Regions from separate parts of the Homo sapiens genome. Here region 2 is linked to region 1. Evidence: promoter capture Hi-C in 16 types of primary human blood cells and fetal thymus (Javierre and others, 2016). All regions are on one chromosome and are shown on one strand. The core of a region is centred on a gene start or on the middle of the fragment in contact, and the rest is flanking DNA. Distances in the headings are between cores, read along the strand shown. Region 1 holds the start of SCGB2B2 (secretoglobin family 2B member 2). Region 2 overlaps SPACA6 (sperm acrosome associated 6).

What was found. The method cuts DNA at HindIII sites, captures the fragments that hold promoters and counts their contacts. A CHiCAGO score of 5 or more calls a contact.
Region 2: a fragment that was not itself captured here is called in contact with the fragment with the promoter of SCGB2B2 in region 1 in 1 of 17 cell types (fetal thymus); the score reaches 7.0 in fetal thymus.

What each region holds. Positions count from the first base shown.
Region 1 is chr19:34,675,909-34,680,286 of GRCh38, reverse strand. SCGB2B2 (secretoglobin family 2B member 2) reads left to right here and starts at 3,128. Exons shown (of 4, transcript NM_001025591.4): 1 at 3,128-4,378. It overlaps ZNF302 (zinc finger protein 302), which reads right to left and starts at 2,609. Exons shown (of 5, transcript NM_001289187.2): 1 at 2,184-2,609; 2 at 1,474-1,550. The coding sequence starts at 1,482. It also overlaps the pseudogene ZNF807P and the pseudogene SCGB1B2P. RefSeq lists enhancers at 484-985, 1,843-2,739, 2,871-2,930, 2,981-3,080, 2,740-3,637 and a silencer at 2,361-2,420. The HindIII fragment of the contact is 5,389 bases long and covers 702-4,378 here.
Region 2 is chr19:51,698,446-51,702,327 of GRCh38, reverse strand. SPACA6 (sperm acrosome associated 6) reads right to left here. Exons shown (of 9, transcript NM_001316972.2): 3 at 602-670. Among named protein-coding and RNA genes, the nearest start is that of SPACA6-AS1, 6.9 kb to the right of the region's middle. The HindIII fragment of the contact is 3,108 bases long and covers 1-2,924 here.

The sequences.
Region 1 (4,378 bases), core at 1,879-4,378:
AATCCATGTACAACTCTTCCTAACAGGTACTTCATAAGTGTTTAGAAGATGAACCAATGAATGGTTTTGGCATTAGTTCACTTTAGCCTTTACTTTGTTTTTTCTTTCAAGAGGCAGGTTCTTGCTCTGTCACCAAGCTGGAGTGCAGTGACATAATCATAGCTCACTACAGGCTTACACCAGAGGGCTCAAGAAATCTTCCTACCTCATCAGCCTCCCGAGTAACTGGGACAACAGGCATGCACTACCACACCAGTTTTTCAATTCTAATTATCTTAATTATTCCATGAAAACAGACTTCACCCAAGATGTACATCTGCTACTTACATCCCCTCCTGTGCAAGCTTCACCTTCCATGCCATGATTCTGCCCCACCAGTTCTTCATTACTCATCTTATTCACTCCACAATTACTTACTAAGCATCCATTTGGTGCCAGGTAACACTCTGGGTACTGACGCTATAACAGTCAACAAAGAAGAAAAAGCATTCCTCCCACCAGGAACAGACAATGAGCACGTGCATATACTGAACATACAGTACATCAGCTAGTGAGTGACACACACTGTGGAAAACAACAAAGCAGTGATGGAGGAGTGGAAGCGCTAGGGAAGGTGACTGCAATTGCAAATAGGCTTTCAGGGAAGCTGTTCTGAGAAAGTAACCACGGAACAAACACAGAAGGAGATAAGGATGCAAGCTTGTGCGTATGTGGGGGAAGAATATTCCACGTGGATGGCACAGCAACTGGTGACAGAGGCTGGAGCGCACAGGAATGAGGAGGCAGAGAAGGAAGGTGGGATCAGGGAGGTAATGGCCTAATTGTACAAATAGGTCATTGCAGAAGTGACTCAGTTAGAACCACTGAAAAATTTTAGGTTGCGGAATGACAGGAATTTATATAACAATAGGACCATGGTCACAGCTGTACTGAGAACAGACTGATGAGGGTTAAGGGCAGATGCTGGGAATCCAGCTAGGAGGCTACCGCAATAATCCAGGTGGCTCGGACTGGGGTGGTAGTGGTGGTGGTGGTGATGGGCTAACTAATGGTCAGATGCTGTATACGGTGTATCGTTTAGATCCAAACTAGAGGACCTGAATATGAGTTATAAGTCAAAAGGAAGAATCAAGGATGACTCCAAACATCTCTTCACTTGAGACCACATGGTACAGTTTTGACAACCATAAACCGAATAACCTTACATTCCAAAGTTGCATTGTGAATTACAGTTTTAAAATGTTGGCAATCTAGAAAGTCTTCTAGCAGAAAACTGTAGAAAAGAGGAACACTGGGTGATGAGGACAATACCTTGGAGCTCTCCTGTGGGCTCCATTCTTCCTATAGTGAAAGGAACCATAGATCTAGTCCCTTAAATGGACTTGATTAGGTGGGAACAGGCAGGAGAAGCAAAGCAAACACACAGAGGCCTAATAAAGTGTTTCAGGAAGATTTGGGGACACACCGACTTACCTGAGACATTATTCTGCAATTTCCAATGGCCAACAGAGTCCCCTTTCCAGGTTCTTATCTTAGAGATGGGCAGTGTCCTGAGGGCACAGAAAGGCAGGAAAAAGCAGTCATGAAAAATCGGGCTTATCTTGCGGCACCTGTCACACACCTTAATGGAAAAGCACACTGGTAATCACTCGCCGGAGCGTCAATCTCTCCCTGGGAAGGAACAGGGTGTTTCTCCGCAAGGGCTATTTACCAGGTGCCACCTGCGGGGAAAATCAATTATTCTGTATACAAAAGACTCATAAAACAACGGTAACAACTTTATCAGCTCGTTCAGTCTTCACCACTTTGCAAGGTGTGCATTCATATTATTCCAGATTTTTTTTTTTTTTTTTTTGAGACGGAGTCTCGTTCTGTCTCCAGGCTGGAGTGCAATGGAGCGACCTCGACTCACTGCAACCTCTGCCTCCCGGGTTGAAGCGATTCTCCTACCTCAACCTCTCGAATAGCTGGGATTATAGACACGTGCCACCACGCCCAGCTAATTTTTTTTTGTATTTTTAGTAGAGACGGCGTTTCGCCATGTTCGTTAGGCTGGTGCGGTGGCTTACGCCTTTAATCCCAGCACTTCGGAAGGCGGAGGCGGGCGGATCGCTTGAGGTCGAGTTCTAAACCAGATTTATTTTTTAAAATGAAGACAAAACTGAAATTCCGAGATACTGAACCCATTTGTTCAAGGTTGCACAACTGAAAGCGCCGGCTTCATGACGACATAACCCAAAAAAAACTGTAGCTGGCGTCTGCTCTCGCGCCCACTTCGCTCTCACAACAGTGCCAAGAGGTCGGCGCCGTCATCACCCCGCGTTTACACGGCTCAACAGGAAGGCCAGGAAATGCCCAAGGCCCCGGCCGTGGTCAAACCGCGCGCGGACCCAGGGCCTTAGCCCCGCCGTCGCCGCGACCCACACTTGCCGGAGTCCTCAGCAGGGCCTCACCGTCCCGCAGGCGCCCCGAGCCCGCGCCTCCGCGGACCTGACGCGCCGCGTAGCTGGTGAGCGGGTAACGGCGGCCGACCTCCGGGAACGACACTGCCCCAAACCGTTCCTTAGCTTGGAAGCCGCCGCCAGGCCTGAAGCTATCGCGGGACTGACCCAGTGCACCGCCCACGGCGAACCACATTTCCCAGAATCCTCCCCCTGCGGTACAAATGTCCCGGAAGCCGCGAACCGCCGGCACCCGAAGACCACACTTCCCAAGGGTCTCTGCGGCTGCGCGGACCTGGTGCGCCGCGGGCAAACCGGTCACGGCTTTGTAAGTAGCTTAACCGCCTGGGGCCGTCGACCTAGAGCCGGCCAGCTAGGACCATGCGCAAATTGTCCTGGGGCACACAGTCGTCCTCTGGTGAACGATACAACTCGAAACCAAGGGACACCCTCTACTTATAAGGGCCATGGCGCCCGGACCAAGAAATTACATTTCCCAGAAAACTGCAGCCGTGCCAAGGTCTTCCGGGTCATTCCTGCGCTCACACAAACGTTTCCCTCCGAGACATGGGCAGCCCTTGCTGGTACCGCGCAAGTGCTCGCCGTTGCTAGCAAAGGGGCTCCTCTCATCCCAAACCCTGCCGCTATGCTGTTCACCTTCAGGTCTTTTTTTTTTTTTTTTTTTGGCACTCATTTGCCCAAGACGATAACTCACAAAACGCCCTGTGGCCCGACTGTCACGACTGTAGTTCGCCAACCAAGGGCATTTCCTGGAAATGCAAGGGGACACGTATCTGTGACACTAATGGCCGTTCTGACGTGCGTTACGCCCCTGGAAGGACTTGGAAATACTGAACTTGAGTGAGCACTGGGAGGATGGAGACCCTCATCCTGGGAGGAGTCACTCCTCCCGCAGCCATCACAGCCTGACGCCCCCTCTCCCCAGAAGTGCTTCTTAGGCCCACCCAAAAGGGCAATGGACCTCTCTGTATGCAAGCCAGAGCAGTCTACTGTTTGTGTATATTTGGGTTGTTTACTTTCTTTTTAACACTTAAATGTTAATTGACTTCAATCATTTTTAAAATTATAAATAGTGTCGCTATAGACTTTTTTGTACTTATTAAGTACTGACCTGCATGATCTTCGTGAAGCAGTGCTTCTGTTACCAGAAAGGGGTCCGGATCCGACCCCAAGAGAGAGTTCTTAGAGCTCACGCAAGAAAAAATCCATGGGAGAGCACAGTGCAAAGCCAAAGCAAGTGTATTAAGAAAGTAAAGAAACAATGGGTACTCCATTGTTAGAGCAGCAGCTTGGGCTGCTGGACTAGGGATACTTGTATTTATTGCTTGATGATGTGCTAAACAAGGGTGGATTATTCATGAGTTTTCCAGGAAAGAGGTGGGCAATTTCAATTTCTCGGAGCTGAGGGCTTCCCAGCTTTTTGAACCATACAGGGTAACTTCTGAACCTTACCATGGCATTTGTAAATTGCCATGGCACTGATGAGCGTTTCTCTTAGCGTGCTAATGCATATAATTAGCATATAACCGAGAGGTGAAGCCAGCTGGGCTTCTGGATCAGGTGGGGCCTTGGAGAACTTTTCTGTATAGCTGAAGGATTGTAAATACACCAATCAGTGCTCTGTGTCTAGCTAAAGGTTTGTAAATGCACCAGTCAGCACTCTGTAAAAACGGACCAAACAGCACTCTGTAAAATAGACCAATCAGCGCTCTGTAAAATGGACAAATCAGCAGGATGTGGGCGGGGCCAAATAAGGGAATAAAAACGGGCCACCCGAACAACCAGCGGCAACCGCGCTGGGGTCTACTTCCCAGGTGTGGGATGTTTGTTCTTTTGCTCTTTGGGTCTGCACTACCTTTATGAGCTGCAACACTCACCCTGAAGGTCTGCAGCTTCACTCTTGAAGCCAGCGAGAC
Region 2 (3,882 bases), core at 121-2,620, about 17 Mb before region 1:
GAGGAGGCGGGGCTAGATCCTGGGCGATCCTTGCAGGAGACCAAGGCTAAGGTGGTGGCCCAGTTAGAGAAGAGGCGTGGCCAGGTTAGTAGTAGTCCCGGAAAGGGGCTCAGTTGGAGACGAAACCTTTCATCGAAGGGGCGGGGCCAGATCAAAAATGGTCCACGCGGGGAAATAGTCGTCCCTCAAGGTCTGAGGCTCAGAGATGGGGCCAGGGGATTGTACGGGGAGTGGATGGGGGGTCTCAGGAGTGGGTTTCGTTTTGAGATGGAGTCTTGCTCTGTCACCCAGGCTGGAGTGCCGATCTCGGGTCACTGCAACCCCGCCTCCAGGGTTCAAGCAATTTTCCTGCCTCAGCCTCCTGAGTAGATGAGATTACAAGCATGCGTTACCACGCCCAGCTAATTTTAGTATCTTTAGTAGATATGGGTATCACCATGTTGGTCAGACTGCTTTTGAACTCCTGATCTCAAGTGATCTGCCCGCCTCAGCCTTCCAAAGTGCTGGGATTACAGGCGTGAGCCACCATCCCCGGCCAAAAGTGGGGTTTTCTAATTGTGTGTGTGTGTGTCTGGGGAAGGAGAGATGGAGTGTATTTTACCTTCTTTAAGCTGTGTAATGACCTTCTTCATTTTCTCCGCAGCATCAGGGAAGGCAACCTCAAAGGATCCTGGAGAGTGGAGGGGAGGACGGCCTGTGTAGTAAAGCCCTTCCCCCAGGGCTTGGTCCTTGGTCCTGCATTCTGATCTAGCCTGGCTAGGGCTAGGCTGGCCCTAGCTCACAGGACGTACTGTCATGGTATCTGCCCTTCCCTGGCCCCTCTTCACCCCTCTCATTACCATATTCTCTGCTCCTCTTCTCATCACCCGCCCTCTGTAGTTGAAGGCTAACAAGTCCCTAAGTCTCCTTTCTTCTGCCTCCTGAATCTCTCCAGGATGGAAGTCCTCCTGGACATCACCTGCATGTAGCTTGTTGGGGGGAGAAGGGGAGGATAAAGATCAAATTCCTCACCAAGGCCTATTAGGTCTTACATGGTTTGGCCTAGTTCCCCCTCCCTCCCTGTCCCATCCCTACTGCCCACCTTTCATTTCCTTTATTTTATTTTATTCAGACAGTGTCTCACTGTCACCCAGGCTGGAGTGCAGTGGTGCGATCTCGGCTCACCGCAACCTCCGCCTCCTGGGTTCAAGTGATTCTCCTGCCCTAGCCTCCCGAGTAGCAGGGACTGCAGGTGTGCACCACCACGCCTGGCTAATTTTTGTGTTTTTAGTAGAGATGGGGTTTCACCATGTTGGCCAGGCTGGTCTCGAACTCCTGACCTCAAGTGATCCACCCACCTCAGCCTCCCAAAGTGCTGGGGTTACAGGCATGAGCCACCGTGCCTGGCCTCATTTCCTTTAATATGAAAACCACCACATTCCCTAGCACCTCAGGGCCTTTGCACATGCTGGCTTGTTTTTAGCACATTTTTCCTTCTCCTAATCATCCTTCCATCACCACAAATCTAACCAAGTTCCCTGTTTTTGTCTCTCATCGCAATCATTTCATTCCTAGCTCTCATCTGTCTGCAATTACATATATTTATATATAGATGATGATCACTTATGTCTGTCTCGTAAGTAAATAAACATGTTCTTCTGTAGCACTGTGTCCTCTGGATCCTGGAGAGGGCCCTCAGTCTTAGAAGTGCTCAGTAAGTATTTGTACAATGAATTCCAGGATCCAACTTGAACTGGAGACCCCAGCTGGTGGCCTATGACCCAAATCCATCCCTGGGATGTGTTATATTTGGCCTGGAAAGTGTTTAAAAGAAAATGAACCAGTTGCCAACATATAAAATTTGGAATGTCAAATAAAACGTTTGGCATCTCTTTTTTACAAAGTTGGAAGAGCTGTAACACAGAGATCGCATTTCCATAAGGCAGCAATTAGCTGGAGATGGGTAGCAGTCACTCCCTTGAAATGGGGCACACACCGGCCACTTCTCCATAGTCCCCAGCCTCTATTCACTTCTATATTTACCCATCTTTTACTCTTTTATGTTCCTTGTCTTTGTAGGTGTTTGTTTTGTTTTGAGATAGAGTCTCGCTCTGTTGCCCAGGCTGGCGTACAGTGGTGTGATCTTGGCTCACTGCAACTTCCACCTCCCAGGTTCAAGTGATTCTCCTGCCTCAGCCTCCCCAGTAGCTAGGATTACAGGCACCCACCACCATGCTCGGCGAATTTTTATATTTTTAGTAGAGATGGGGTTTCACCATGTTGGCCAGGCTGGTCTCAAACTCCTAACCTCAGGTGATCCGCCTGCCTCGGCCTCCCAAAGTGCTGGGATTACAGGTGTGGGCCACCATGCCTGGCCTTGTGTTTTGACCACTGCAATGGCCTCCAAATTGTATGGGTTTGTGGCTTGTTCCAGTGGAATAAGAATAGACAGCTGACTTGATCTCGTGGTGATTTGTGGAAATCAGTAATGTGGCAGGGTTTTATCGGCTAAATCGTGCCGCCCACCCCCCATCCCCCGCAACCAAACTTGTATGTTGAAGTCCTAACTCCCAGTACCTCAGAATGTGACTGTACTTGGTTCTTAAAGAGGTGATTAAGTTAAAATGAGGTCATTAGGGTGGGCTGTAATGCAGTATGATTGGTGTCCTTATGAGAAGAGGAAATTAGGACACAGAGATGCACACAGGGACATATGAAGGAAGGCATCTACAAGCCAAAGAGAGAGGCGTGAGAAGAAACTAACCCTGCTGACACCAAAACCTTGGTCTCAGACTTCTAGAAGGCAGAAACTTCTGTTGTTCGAGTCACCCAGTCTACGGTACTTTGTTACAGTGGTCCTAGCAAACCAACACACAGGAATTGTTCACTGCCTCCAAATACCTATATATCTATAACCTATATCCACAGAACACAGATAAAAAGCTTCATCTCCCAGCCTTCCTTGCAGTTGTGGTCATGTGACCAAGTTGTAGCCATAGGATGCAAATGGATGTGTTATGTGAGTCACAGGAGGTGGCCTTAAAAGGGAGGTGGTACCGCACCTGGAATCACAGCTACTCGGGAGGCTGAGGTGACAGGATCACTTGAGGCCAGGAGTTCGAGACAAGCCTGGGCAACATATCCAGACACCATCTCTAAACAAATTTTTATAAATTAGCCAGGTGTGATGGTGTGCTTGTAGTCTTAGCTACTCAGGAAGCTGAAGTGGGAGGATGGTTGAGCCCAGGAGTTCAAGGCTGTAGTGAGCTATGATTGCACCACTGCCCTCCACCCAGCCTGGGCAATAGAGCAAGACCCTGTCTCTAAAAAACAAAGACAGAGAAGGTGGTGCCATCTTATTGTTCCCCTCATCCATCCTGCTGCCTGAAAATTTGTTTTGATGGTTGGAGCTCTAGCAGCCACACGGGACCATGAGGACAAGGGCTACTCCCTGGGATATTAAGTCTTGAAGGAGCTTGGATCCCCAAGAAATGGAGGTGCCATATTAGCCTTAAGTGCCTACCACAAGACTTACTTTATATAGGAGAGCTAAACTTCCTACGGGCTTAAAGCCATTGCAGGGACAGGGGAAAGCGTCCTCTGTGATTAAAGCCATACAAAAAGGGAGGGAACTGAGGATATTGGCAAGAAAGTGCCTAAAACAATGATCACTGGATATACACTTGGAGAGAGGAAGCACTGATGCCCAGAAGTGGGTTCCAAATGAGGACCCAGTGGTCTCTCCTTGGCCACAGAGCAGGAGTGTGGTCTCAAGATGGCAGGATGATCAGGAGCATGTGGTCAGACTGGGGTGCACAAATGAGAGGCCAGGATGTTGGAGGAGTCATCCAAAGAATTTCTATGTGCCAAATCAAATGACTCATGGGCAGGGTGAGCGTGGGA